Regions from separate parts of the Homo sapiens genome. Here regions 1, 2 and 3 are each linked to region 4. Evidence: promoter capture Hi-C in 16 types of primary human blood cells and fetal thymus (Javierre and others, 2016). All regions are on one chromosome and are shown on one strand. The core of a region is centred on a gene start or on the middle of the fragment in contact, and the rest is flanking DNA. Distances in the headings are between cores, read along the strand shown.

Region 1 (3,256 bases), core at 587-3,086, about 14 Mb before region 4:
GAGGGAGGCAGAGTTTGCAGTGAACTGAGGTGGCACTACTGCACTCCAGCCTGGGCGACTGGGTGAGACTCTGTCTCAAAAAAATCAAATAAAAAAAATCAAATAAAAAAATTAAAAGCTTTAGTCAGAACATGGCCCTCTCCTGCTTAAAACTTTGCAATGGCTTCCCATTGCTTTAAAAATAAAATTCAGGCTTTTCCACGATGGACAAGGTTCTGCTCTGCAACCTTGTTCACTGCTCTGCAGCAACACTGGCCTTCCCACCTCAGAGCTTTTGTCCTTACTGGTATGTTCCAGCAAAATTCTTTTGCCTGGGGTGCTCTTTTCTCAGATCGTCACAGTTTCTTCTCGTCCTTCAGAGTTTATCTTAAACACCACCACCTCTCTAAGAGGCCTTCCGTACCTCCCACCCATCAGGTTCATTTTGTTTTCTTCCTAACACCTGTCACAGTCTGACATTATGCTAATCATTTGTTGTGTCAGCCTTAAGTAGTGAAATTCAGAAAATATCATTAAGTATAGAGTTTATTCTAACGCAAAGCTTGAGGACAGCCACCTGGAAACACCAACTCCAAACAAATAGGGTCAATGTTCCAAAGTGAAGTTAAGGTTTCATTTACACAGGCAGAAACAGAGAAGGTTCAGCAGGAGTACATTTTCAATACAAGAGCAGTGCATAAATTACAGCGATTAGATTAGTTATAGATAGCTACATTCCAAGGAAGATAACTATATTAATTTATGAAGGGGGTAGTGATCTGAGGGGGTCTTACCTCTGTCTCTGTTTGGTCTTCCTGATTATAGGAAAAAACAAGGCAGACATTGCAGCTGTATGCCATGGGACTCAGGCCCCATCGCCACATTCTTCGCAAGGCTCAGAATAATTTAAAGTTCCAACAGCTTTAAGTTTGAATTATTTAATTTCACAGTTGATTCACTTGTTCTTTTCCTGTCTCCCACAATAGAAAATAAGCTCCCAGGGATGCAACCTTGGCAGGCTCCTAAACTGCCACGGCTCCAGTTTCTTGTAGATTAGATATTCACTGTTGGTTAAATGAAAGAAGTTCTAGACAGGCCTCGGTGTGCTGCCTCCTCTTTAACGAGAGGGCTTACTAGATGAATGTGAGCAGACGGAAGCAGAACACCCTCTTAATGAAGGCAGCGCATTCCAGCTCAGGGATTTCTAGAAACCTCGGGGGCGGAAGTTTAACCAGAGAATTAGGAGGCAAGGGGAAGAGTAGCAATGAGGTTAACCTGTGCAGTGTAGTCATTTCACGAGTTTGAGAACGCCTAGCACGATGCCTTAACGGAGCGTCGGGCACAGAGTCATTTGGGAGGATTTCTTTTTCGGATTTTTGAGACAGGAACCTGATTTGAAGCAACAGGGAAGAACACCAAGAGGACGAAGAGCCAACGACGGGCGTGCCCGGGAGCTCTCACCTGGAAGGGGTGGGAGCAAGCAGGGCCTGACGTCCTCCCGCCTTGGCGGCCGTGGACGCCCCAGGTGCCACCCACAGCAGCCTCCCACCACACATGACTGAGGCTCGGGAAGCAATAAAGTGGCTTTCAAAATACTAAACGCAATTGAGATTTTTTCCTGAGTTAAAACAAAAAAAAAAAGGAACTGAATGCCGAAATATACGGAGAAGAAACTCCAGTTGCCACGTCCCCGAACGTCTCCACCCAGTCCTGCCTGCTGTTTCGCCCTCAGTCTGGGCCTCGCACAGCGCGGCGGAGCGCGGGAGGGGCGGGGCGGGCCTGCTGACGTCGCCGGACCTGAACTGCGCAGGCGCGGCGCGAGATCGCGGGAGCGAGCGCGCGGTAACAGTTCGCGGCAGTTCGCGCGGGAGCGGGGCGCCTGGGTGGATGGGCGCTTGGGCGCCTGGGCTGCCGGACGGTGGGAACGGAAGTCGCTGTGGGACGCTGAGGAAGCCAGGATGGCGACTCCGAGCAAGAAGACGTCAACTCCAAGCCCCCAGCCTTCCAAGAGAGCTCTCCCGAGAGACCCTTCGTCGGAGGTCCCGAGCAAGAGGAAGAATTCGGCCCCGCAGCTGCCGCTGTTGCAGTCGTCCGGGCCTTTCGTGGAAGGCTCTATCGTCCGCATCTCGATGGAGAACTTCCTGTAAGTTGCCCGGAGGCCGCGCCGCGGGTGTGGAGGTGTGCTGGCCAGCAGGCCCCGGGGCTCCGGCAGCGCGCGGGCGTGGGCGTGTGGGTGTGTACCTGGCTTGTGGGTCTGGCCTTGAATTCGTGCCGGGGTTCCCTTGAGGATTTTCCTACGTAGGCTGTGGAGATTGACGTGTATGATGTAGGAGATGTGTGCCTTGGGTGATGTGGTTTTTAAATTTAGTCAGCCAAGGTTTTCCAAAGGTGTCATGTAGCAGGTAGTGGTTGTAGGAGGGAGTAGGTCTCTGCCCGCTGGGAGTCGCGATCCATAGCGGCCCTGGTCTGGAATTCACAGAAGTATTGTCCCCGGGAACTTAAGAGGAGGCAACAGTTAATTCGGCGTGATAGTGATGCTGTGGCGGATTCTTAGGGTAGGCATTTGCCAGAGAGGAGTAGATAAGACGGTAAAGGTTGTTCGGGAATGGAGGTTACAGGTACAAAAAAATTAAACACTTACTGGCAATTGTTGGACCTCCCTACAAACCCTTGACCCCACTAAACCCAGTTTTCTTCCCTGGTTCCTCCCTCTCCCCTTCAGACAACTAGTTACCGCTTTAGAATTTAGTAAGTTTTAAATATATCATGTATTTGCCTAGCACCTTCCAGTTCATTTGTTCCAGGTCTTTTTTTTTTTTTTTTTCCTCTTTTTTTTTGAGACGGAGTTGCGCTCCTGTAGCCCACGCTGGATGGAGTGCTGTGCCGCGATCTCGGCCCACTGCAACTTCCGCCTCTCGGTTTCAAGCGATTCTTCTGGGTCAGCCTCCCGAGTAGCTGGGACTACAGGCGCGCGCCACCACGCCCGGCTAGTTTTTGTTTTTGAGACGGAGTGTCATACTGTCGTCCGGGCTGGAAGGTAGTGGCGCAATCTCGGCTCACTGCAACCTCCGCCTCCCAGTTTCAATCAATTCTCCTGCCTCAGCCTCCCGCGTAGCTGGGATTACAGCCAGCCGCCACCACGCCCAGCTATTTTTTTTTGTATTTTAGTAGACTCGCGGTTTCACCGTGTTGACCAGGCTGATCTGGAACTTTTGACCTCAGGTGATCTGCCCGCCTCGGCCTCCCGTAGTGCTGGGATTACAGGCGTGAGCCACCA
Region 2 (3,263 bases), core at 538-3,037, about 14 Mb before region 4:
CTGTAATGGGCTTTGAGATGGGAGGATTTTCCATAGACTTTCCCACAGCCACTGTAGGGGCACTTGTGCCTCTTTTCGGAGGCGTGTTTCCCCTTCGCAGCCACTCCAGGATGGAGGAGGGAGAGCGGGCTGGGCGCGCTGCCAGGATCCTGTCTCTCCTCCGGGCTGTGGGAAGGACTCGACCCAGATTCGGTGGTCACGTCGCTGTCGGATCCCATATCCTCATCTGGACTTTCCAGACTGTCGCTGCACACGGAGGGGGTCTGGATGGGTCGGTACTTGTTCAGGTCCAACAAGCTCTTGGCGATGGTGACCAGTGTGCAGTAATCCTTCCAGGTGTCCCCCGGGTCACCGTGCTCCTTGGTCACCTCGCGCTCAGGTAGTCGCAGCCGCTCGGCGTCCGGAGCGACCCCATGCTCCGGCACCGCAGCGCGGTTCGAAATGGAAACCAGACACTGGGCAGCCACGAAGTCCATGTAGGCGGCCGCGGACATGGTGCGGGCGACGGCAGCCCAGGCGGCGCGGACAAACTTGGCGGTGGCTGCGGAGGTTCGGCTCGCCCTGCCCTGGCCTCGGACGACGAGCGCGGCGCGGCGCGGCACGGCGCGGCGGCCAAGGGGGCGGGGGCGCGGGGCGCTTCCGACTCGCAGGAGCGCCGAGGCGACCTCAGCCCCTCATCTTTACGTAACCGGCAGCGCCTCCGCACGCAGCATCCACGGCCCCGGGCTCCGCCGCGCCGCCGCCTCTAGCCGCCGCCCCTGCCCCGCGCCGGCCGCGATCCCCCGACGGGCGCGCCGGCCCCTCTGAGCCGGCTCCCTTGGAAAGATGCCACACGTGGCGGTCGCAAGTTTATTCGACTGAAAACGCCCCCGAGGCGCTGGGAGAGGAAACTGCAAGAGAGGTGCACGCCCTCGGCCGCCTCGCCGTCGAGCCAAAGCCCCAGGACATTCACCCGATCACCCCGACGCGGGTGGCGAGGGTCCCGCCGAGCGCCAGGTCTAAGAGACACTTTTTCCCGAGTCCACTGACGGCTTCTGAACCCCTGCTCCGGCCGGTCCGCACCGTTCCGGCATTCTCTTGCTCAGTAACAATTTCGCAGAATCCCATCACGTCACAAACCAAACCCCCTCCAATTGGCCAGTGGGGAGGGTGATTCAACTCTGTTTACTTTCTCCCCCTGCCAGTCAGAACGGCCTTCGGTGGAGAGGTGCGTCTAGAACTGAGGCGTGCGGCCAATCCGACTGTTCCGTTTCGCTGCCTCGTGCTACCCCTACAGCCTCGAACACTGACATTTAAAAGGGTAACAGCTGGGAGGCAGGGAAGGGGCAGCCGCACACTTTCGGAGTGCCTCGCGGTCCCGTGGCCGGTCCGGGCCTCCTGGCTCACGTTCCAGCTTGCGGAGCTTTGGGACACATCTTTCCTAGTCAGTTGCGCTCGTTCCTATGGCAAAAGAGAACTTCAGCTTCGGTTTTCCAGCTCCCAAACAGTTAAGTGACTTCCTGCAAACGCTACAGTCCCAGCAACCAGCCTTCCAATCAAAAGTAAGTTGGTTGATGTCACTGGCATTGGCTCGGCCAATCACAAGGGCGTTCCGAAAGCAAGCGCTCGACACTTGTAAACGCGAAGAGCTGTAGTGAAACTGGACACATCTTTGTATTTTGTGTTGCTGGTAGTAAATTTGAGTTATGGATGAGAGGACAGGGGTGATGAATAAATGCAGTGTGAATCTATAATTAAAAAAACCCCATTATGTCAGGATAAGTCCAAGAATAAACACAAATGAGTAAGAATTCGTTTTGTTATATATTTTTTGGATGCAGCATACTTTGGGGCAGATGTTTAAAAATTCTTCCATCCAATACATTAACTATGACCAATTCATCTTAAAAATGCAGTGCTAACAAAAGTTCTGGTTTTACAGCATAGCCTTTTTACTGCCTGAGATTCTTCCATTGAAACATCCCATCTTTGCTTGTCATATCTCTTAATTCCTCTACTTCTCTGGTGCAATTTAGTCTAAATAAATTCTTTTAGCTTTATTTGGAGGCTATTTTTAACCCACTTTCAGAAAAACGGAGACAAAAACCATTCATTTGTGTAACTTTTATAAAAAACCCACCATTCTTAGCTCTTTTTCTTTCCAGAGCCCCTGCATGGTTTTTAGGACATGTTTCTCTTCCCTCACTTCACAAATGTGGAAACTGAGTTACAGAGAAGTGACTTATTTATCTTATTAGACAGATAATGATAGAACTCAATAGAAACCACAAGTCTCCTGATTTCTAGCTCTTTGTGCTTGCAACTAAGCCCTTTTGGTTTTGTGAAATATTAACTGTGCAGAACAGATTTTTAGGGACTGGAACAAGCTGGAAATCCTTAGCCATGGAATACTGTGGCATTACTTGGTCAACAATTAGTATGGGTCTTGGAGTCTGATTAACTTGGTTTACCCCTCCGTCTGAATTAACGATGTGGTTGTTTTCCATCTTGATAGCTAGAAAAGAATCTAGGGCTAGTTCTTTTTGCAAGAGGCATACTGTCAGCACAATTCATTAAAAATAATTCACTTTCGTGAATGTGAGAGGTACCTGATTCTATGTGATGCAGATTCGGTGAGTTCCAACCCTGACCCCCCACTGGCTATTAACCTTTGTTAAGAGAAAGTTACACCAGGTTCTGGTCTCCGAGGCAAGGGTCTCAAATTGACTCTACCAATGTGAGATCTACAGTAGTTTCTTTTGACTTTGTTTTTAAAGTGGTACATCAAAAATAATAATAATAAAAAAAAAGTTAGCCAGGCGTGGTGGCTCGCACCTGTAGTCCCAGCTACTCAGGAGGCTGAGGCTGAAGGACTGCGTCAGCCTAGGTCAAGGCTGCAGTGAGCCCTGATTACACCACTGTACTACTCCAGCCTGGGCAACAGAGCAAGGCCCTGTTTTTTTTGTTTTTTTTTAAATCATAACTAAGGGTGGCTCAGGTAAGTAAGAGTATAATAGATTTTAATTAAAAAATAACAAACCTGACAAGACCAGTTCAATAAAAGTGTACAGCTTAAAAAAATAAAGAAAACAACAACAAAAATATTAAAGTGGTACAGGGAAGATATTGCAGTAGGTGACTGCAGGTGGAAGAAAGGTGTAGATAGGGGATACTGGGCAACCAAGAATATCATCACCATCAGCATCATTATCACCGACCCCTTTCATGGAGGGCTTACTCTGTGTCAGGCCCTGTACCAAGCACCCTGCATGCATCCCTGTAAG
Region 3 (3,458 bases), core at 326-2,825, about 12 Mb before region 4:
TACAAAGAATCCTTAATTTTTTAGGGGGGTGTGGGGAAACATTTTAACAAAAAACTTCAAAGATAAAATTGCAGTATTTTCACCAACTGAGTTCTGAAAGCCTACTCTTTAAAAAAAATCCTAAAAATAAGGAATAAAATACATTCGTTTATGTTTTTAGAAGTCTGTATCTAAATCCCAGGTTTAAGAACGGGGATGTGTGACCTATATGTTCCTTTATCTTGGTATCTCCTTAGATGCTATCCCTTAGGAGACACTCAATCAATAAAGATAATCCGACCCTTCCCCGAAAACACACCTCCACGGAGTGCGTGGAAAGCGAGCAAAAAATTTCACATTCATCAGCCTAAATGCACCAAACAAAGGAGGTGTTCCATTTCCTCCATGAAAACGGATCTCAGGATAAAAACGCAGCGACGTCGAGAAGCCCAAAAGACGACGCCGAGAACCCCCGGCCCCATGTTCCAATGGATTTTGGAACAAGTTCGGGTCCCACTGATACCCCATCCCCCTCTAAGCAAAGGCCTCACTCAATAAAGCCCAACAGGGCCCTCTCCGAAAACCACTGAGTCATGCAGAACAGCAGCTCAGCAGGCCCGGCCAGCCCTTCGCCTGCAGGCCCCACGCGGATCCCCGACCCCCGACCCCCGACCCCGAACGGCTCCTCTTAGGGGAGAGCTAGGGGGGGCTGCAACGGGCAGGGGGCGCGGCCGCCGCCTCGGCCTCTTTGTTTCTCTGGGTCGTGGTGCCCACGCCGGGCGCCGCCGCGGAGGCGAGCGGCCTAGAGGCCGGCCCCGCAGAGGCGGCACGCCGTGCATTGTTTCCCGACCGTGCTGTGGAGCGAGCCAGGGACGCCGGGAGCCAGGTCTCGGGCCACGACGACAGGATGACGCCTCCGTCTTTGTGCTTCCTGGGCTGGCGGGCGGGCTCCCCTCCCCCGGACGCCGCCATCCGCGGCCTGCTCCGGCTTCGCCATTGGCCCGCGGCGCCCCGGTCCCTTCACTCCCGCCCCCGGCCCGGCAACAAGGAGCCCGGCTCCCACCCGCAGCCCCGTATCACTCACCCTGCAGGGTCCCAAATGCGAAAGCCGGGTTCGCGCGCGAAGCCGGCACGATGAGGCCGGGCCGAGGCCTCCGGGAAGGCTGAGCCGGGCGCCCTGGTGCCGCCGCCGCGGGCCGGGAGCGGGTCGGAGCAGCAGGCGGAGGTGGCGCCGCCGCCGCCGCGGGGTCTTCCTTTGTTCCTGCAGCAGCGTCGAGCGTGGCCGGGACACGCCGGAGCTCGGGAAGTGGGAGGAGGGAAGCGAGGGGGGGCCGAGGAGGAGGTGGAGGGAGGACCGGCGGCCGCAGCGGCTAACGCTGCTCGAGGCGCTCGCCTGTCGTCGCCTCACGCCTCCACAGGCCGCAGGTTGGGCGGACGAGGAGGGCGAGCGGACCGCGCGCCGCGAGGCCTGGGGCCGTAAGGGCCCGCTGATGGCGCTCTTCGCCGCTCCTGCCACCGCCGGGGAAGCTGCGCGGCTCCCGGGAGCGAGCGAGCCCGCGTAGGAGATGCACACAGCTCCGCGTCCCGGCCGACTAACGCACTCGCCGCCCGGCGCCCGGGCTGTGAGGGAAAAGAGGGGGAGGGGGCGGGACCCGTGCGTCAGCGAAAACCCCGGCGGCGGCGGCGGCGGCGGGGAGCGCGGTGACGTCGCGGGCCCAAGGCCACGCCCCCGGTGCCCTGTCAGTAGGTCCAGGAGGCGGGGCCGAGACGGGTTGCTGTGCCTTCTCGCGGAGCCCAGCCACTGGCCTGGCAGTCGGCCCCTAGGGTGGAGCTGGGAAGAGCGAGTCCTGTGGAGGATGCGTTTCTATTTTTAACCCAATTGTCCGCCCTCAGCCTCCCTCCTTCGGATTTTCTCATTCAAACCCGTTTTTCGCCATCCTAGTTCTCACGCTTTGTCTCCAGCCCTGGGCAGACATTCCCTCCCCCAAGAATCGTAAGGATTCACCCCCAGAAAAGGAAAAGAATTGCCTTATGGCTTCGAGGTCTTTTCTGTTTATGAAACCTCCTCACTCCCCACACCCATTTTGAGCTCCGAAGTCCAGCCCGAGCGTGGCCCTGACGCAGCTGGCGGCGTGCGTTCGCTCGCCCAAGGTCACGGGTGGTTGTGCGGAGTGAGGAAACGCGCGGCCGCCCAGGGCTGCCAATGCCCCGGCGGCGCTGTTCTGAACAAACTGTTTTGGCCAGCCTGTGAAATCCCTGGAAATTGACGATTCCAGCAAAGCGTCGTGAACTGGGAAAGCACCAAATGTTCTACTCAAAAGCCGCGAAGGGACAAAACAAGCTAGACCCGAGGCCCAGATGAAGCGGGAGGAGGAGGCTTGCGAGAGGAAGTTCAAGGGGGGAGGTACTAGGCGGGCAGTTCAGGCACGAGGCACAGGTCCCCCATGGGTGAAAGGATGACTTTACCCGGAACACTGGGAACCTTTTCAGAGCACAAACAAAAAACATTTTCAACTGACCGCTCCAAGTGAATTTCAGTTCAACTCAAAATAACAAAATTACTAAGTCGGAAAGGACTTCTGAAATTTTCTAGTAAACAACGGTCTAACGAATACATAGAAATGATGTTTAGGGTTTATATTAGCCACATATAGAATGGAGAAGAGGTCCCTTCAGTGTTTCTCAAAGTTGGTAATCAGAAAAAAAATCACCTGGGGTGATTAAAGATTCCTACGCATCTCCCCTGGATATGGTTTTGGTTGTTCCGGGGTGGGAGCGGGGGTGGGGGGGGGCCCATATTGCGCTTCAGGTGGTCCTTATTTATAATCTGTATTTGGGGGAATGCTATACTGATAGCTTGAGCCACCACTGCCAAATCAAACAGTTCTCCGCCACAGTTAGCAAAGTACCTGGAGCATAACAACCTTTTGTTTTGTTTTTTAACAAATTCGGGTTTATTACTGTGATCAATTAATGTATTAGAGATTTAAGTAGTTTGGGTCACTGGTCCCACGACCACTGCAATTTATTTCCTTAAATTAGCAGATGAATTAGTAAAAAAAAAAAAAAAATAGCAGCTACCATTTACAGGCCATTTTCAGTGCCAACTATTTTCCATTTAGGGTCTCATTTTATCCTCACAGCAATTCACTGAGATAGGTACTATTATCATGTCCCTTTCTACAGATAAAGAAACAATGACTAAAAAGGCTTGCCCAGGGCACTGAAGGGCAGGGAGGCAATGGAGGTGATTATTATTGAGAACAAAAATAACTTGAATTTTAACTTGAATTTTTTTCTTTCTCTAGAATTGGAGTTATAGTGAGTGAAACAAGATAATTCCTGAAGAAGCATACTTTAAAAAAAGTCTAAGGGTAATGAGGCAAGCTCATTATTGAATAGTGTATTCCATAATATTATGTCACCTTCTGATAATTCATCTTCTCTATCACCCATTTATAATTTTCTCTGAGACTGTT
Region 4 (3,181 bases), core at 24-2,523:
GGATAAATCCAAAAATCTAATATAGGACCAGACCCAAACTACCACAATACCAGTCTATTATTAATCAGCGAAACAAATGGAGCCCTTGAAAACTAACAGTCACTAGCGGATTATTTTAAATTAGGCTTAAGGGAGTACAACACAACAATCATGCCTGTAACACGAAAACTAAAGTGTCTACGTGCCAAAACGGTCGATAGGACTACAAACAGCCTTTTTAAGCTTCCCTCTTGTCGGGACTAGGAGTTGACAAGCGGCCTCTACTAGAAGGTTGGCTAGACAGCAAAGAGCCAACAAGCGAGGCACATTTATGCCTCCCATTCTCCCATACCGTTGGTCGACTTATTGCTCTCCTAACGACAACTGAAACGACATCCTTCCGGCCCAGCACGCAATTTCTGAGGTGTGGTGGGAGAAGAGTTGGATAAGAAAGTTTAAGCAAAAACAGCAGGGCTTATCTGTAAGAATAACGTTGCCGCTTGCCGTTCACCCTTCGGGTCCTGCAGTCACTAGTCCCCAGGCCTCAAAAATCCGCTAAGTATGTGCTCCACTGGCCGAGCGCCAACGCGCCCTCCCCTCCCCGCCTCCCGGCACCGAGATCAAAAACAGCCGGGTAACAGGACGGGAAAAAGCGAAAGTCGACAGCAGAAGCACCGCACCTCTCCTCACCCGGATCCGACAGGAAATGGCGGCCCGCGTAATGGCGACTACGTGCTACTAGGCGGAGCCGAGCGCCGACCCCCTCCCCCACCCACCACGCGGTCCCGAGGTCTCATCCCCCGCATCCTCCCCCCACTGCCCGAGACAAAGCCATCGAGGCAGCCCTGACCGTTCCATCCCCGCCGCTCCAGCTCCGACCCCGGGCCGGGAGACCCAAGGTGAGGCGGGGCTCACACAAAGAGAGCGGCGGCGCGACCTTCTCCCCGCACCGGCCTCCTTTCCTCCACGAGGTCCCTAGTTCCCAGTGCCACATAGCTCCAGCTCATCCTAGAGGCACATGCCTCACGAATCCCCAAGTCTCTAGGACCACAACGCGGACTGCGGATACACGCTCAGGGAAATGGCGGAGGTGGGGGAGGGGACACCGGGCAACGTTCCCACTCGGAGAAGCGGCCAAACACCAAAGCGGCTCCCAGGACGCCTCCCTCAAGCGGAAAAACTGGGCTCCGACCCTCACCTCCACGAGCCGCTCCCCCAACCCGGCTCCTCACCGCGCGAGACTGCCGTCCCTCCGCTGCCGCGCCGCCTCAGCCGGTCGGAGCTAGACAGAAAACGAGCGCAGGCTCCCCTCCCCCGCCTTCTCGCGTCCTCCCCGCCGTCGCGCCCTATTGGCTGCCAGGGCTTCAGCGATGGTGCGAGGGCGAAGCGATTGGCCCGAGGCCACGTCAATCAAGGCGACGGAGGAGGCGACAACCCCGCCTCCCGCCAGCGCCTCCCTTCGGGCTGGGAGGCCACTAAGGGCTCGAGAAAACCCGGGCTTGGGAAAAGTAAACGCAGCCTTTCAGGGAGCCCCAACCCTTACCCGAATCAGCAATACCCAAGCTCCAATAACTCCAATTACCTATAGGCCGCGAACAAGTGGGACACAGGCAAGACGTCGAGGTCGGTGCAGCAGAGAAACAGAGGATAATGGCGTCTGCAGTGCTGTCGCCTGGAGCGCCCTCCTCCTTTCTCGTTCGCGCACTCACTAGCTGGGGGGAGGGGCGGCTAGGGGGCGAACCTCTCGCGAGATCTAACAACTGCCTAGTTCACGCGCACAGGGAGGGGGCGGGGAAGGGGCGTTTTCCAGCCCCGAAGGAGTCCTTTGGGGTTGGAGGAGGGGCGCGAGCGCGCGGCAAATCGGGCGGGAAGAGGTAAAAAAGGAACTGGGAGCGCGCCGCGGCGGTTCCTGTCCTTACAGTTGCGCTGCCCAGGGACCGATGTTGCGCGAGGAAAATGCGGGACGCCCAGGTCGGTGCTCGGCCCAGACTTATGCCCGTGTTTTCACAGCCCACACTCGTGCCCGAAGCCCCTTACCCCGCCCCGGGCTGTGGTCTGTGGGCTGTGGGACGAGCTGCGGCGCGGTAAGTGCGGGCCGTCTGCGTCCGCTGGGCCGGGCCCACGCTTCGGAAACCCGTTGTTTGTAATGGTCCGGGGCGCCCGTCAGTCAAGGCCGGGCCCGGGGGCGCAGCTGGCGGTTCTCGGCCTGCCTTGCGCCGGGGCGGGAGCCGGGGAAACGCGGGGCGAGCCTGGGAGTACTGGAGAACTTCTCGCCGAGAGGGCACAGGCGGTTTCACAGGGCTCTCGGTTCTGAGACTTTCCTCTTGGGTAATGGGACCTGAGATGGAAGTATTTTGTAGTGTCGTCGCTGTAGTTTATTCCGATAAAATTTTTAGGCAATATGTATTGCCCTTGTCTCCTAAAATGAATGCGTATCGCTGAATACGTTGCAGACCTCCACGTTCCATTCAAAGCGCCTGCCTTGTGGCAGTGATGAAAACAGACAAAAACCCTTGCCCTCAAACGTGCTCCTGTTCTAGCGGGTTCAGCGCACACTTGCATTGTATTCGGTTCCTTACTTTTAAGGCTCCTGTGCCAAGCTTTCATGACTTCCTTTGTTAAGGCACATAAGGTCACTTTCAATCGGTGACAGCCCTGGGAAATCTCCAGCCCTGGTAGTACCCGCTTTCCACATCCTTACTCGTCAACCTTCCAGCCTCCGCCCACAATCCCAAACTCATTTTGAAGCATAAAGGTGTCATAATCTGCACATAAAGCGAAATCCACCATTGGCCGAATACATGCATATATTTTAGTGTTGATGAATTTGTGCTGATTCATTCCTGTTATAATGTTTCCTTCTTGGGTAATTTGCAAAACATATATACCAGCATTCTTTTAAATGGCCATGATTGCATCCACCCAGCATCTTTTACTTGACTGATTAGAGGAAAACTCTTGTTAGGGCGCACTGAGGATTTCATGACAAACACCAGTATTTACATTCTGGGAGGATACGTTAACACATGCTGTTAGAACATAATGTCCGGGATTGTGGAATTTATAAAAGTTCTCTTTAAGTGATAATATAATTTTTTAAATGGTCCCCACCATGAAGAGTGTATAGTCTTGTTGGGTAGGTAAAACTTAACTCGCATTTCAGTTCTAAAACACAAAGTTCAGAATTTTATTAAATATTCAA

Evidence for each region. Contacts are between HindIII fragments. The CHiCAGO score rates a contact against its expected background, and 5 or more counts as called.
Region 1: a contact is called between the fragment with the promoter of SMC5 here and the fragment with the promoter of HNRNPK in region 4, in 1 of 17 cell types (fetal thymus). The highest score is 9.0, in fetal thymus.
Region 2: a contact is called between the fragment with the promoter of KLF9 here and the fragment with the promoter of HNRNPK in region 4, in 1 of 17 cell types (total B cells). The highest score is 6.8, in total B cells.
Region 3: the fragment with the promoter of ZFAND5 here is called in contact with the fragment with the promoter of HNRNPK in region 4 in 1 of 17 cell types (fetal thymus); the score reaches 7.2 in fetal thymus.

What each region holds. Positions count from the first base shown.
Region 1 is chr9:70,257,142-70,260,397 of GRCh38, forward strand. It overlaps SMC5 (structural maintenance of chromosomes 5), which reads left to right and starts at 1,837. Exons shown (of 25, transcript NM_015110.4): 1 at 1,837-2,122. The coding sequence starts at 1,938. SMC5-DT (SMC5 divergent transcript) reads right to left here and starts at 1,733. Exons shown (of 4, transcript NR_039990.1): 1 at 1,255-1,733; 2 at 774-794. RefSeq lists enhancers at 1,404-1,593, 1,924-2,123 and a silencer at 1,664-1,883. The HindIII fragment of the contact is 2,740 bases long and covers 540-3,256 here.
Region 2 is chr9:70,412,870-70,416,132 of GRCh38, forward strand. It overlaps KLF9 (KLF transcription factor 9), which reads right to left and starts at 1,788. Exons shown (of 2, transcript NM_001206.4): 1 at 1-1,788. The coding sequence starts at 494. KLF9-DT (KLF9 divergent transcript) reads left to right here and starts at 1,321. Exons shown (of 4, transcript XR_001746710.3): 1 at 1,321-1,541. RefSeq lists enhancers at 269-1,122, 951-1,030, 1,371-1,500, a silencer at 481-660 and a promoter at 837-1,639. The HindIII fragment of the contact is 11,812 bases long and covers 1-3,263 here.
Region 3 is chr9:72,363,633-72,367,090 of GRCh38, forward strand. It overlaps ZFAND5 (zinc finger AN1-type containing 5), which reads right to left and starts at 1,576. Exons shown (of 7, transcript NM_001102420.3): 1 at 1,064-1,576. RefSeq lists enhancers at 579-1,282, 1,283-1,987 and silencers at 595-1,424, 1,435-1,814. The HindIII fragment of the contact is 8,298 bases long and covers 1-3,458 here.
Region 4 is chr9:83,978,942-83,982,122 of GRCh38, forward strand. It overlaps HNRNPK (heterogeneous nuclear ribonucleoprotein K), which reads right to left and starts at 1,274. Exons shown (of 17, transcript NM_031263.4): 1 at 1,212-1,274. It overlaps RMI1 (RecQ mediated genome instability 1), which reads left to right and starts at 1,864. Exons shown (of 3, transcript NM_001358291.2): 1 at 1,864-1,950. RefSeq lists enhancers at 548-707, 1,528-1,577, 1,537-2,044, 1,618-1,677, 1,808-1,877 and 2 more and silencers at 1,248-1,387, 2,198-2,277. The HindIII fragment of the contact is 2,357 bases long and covers 221-2,577 here.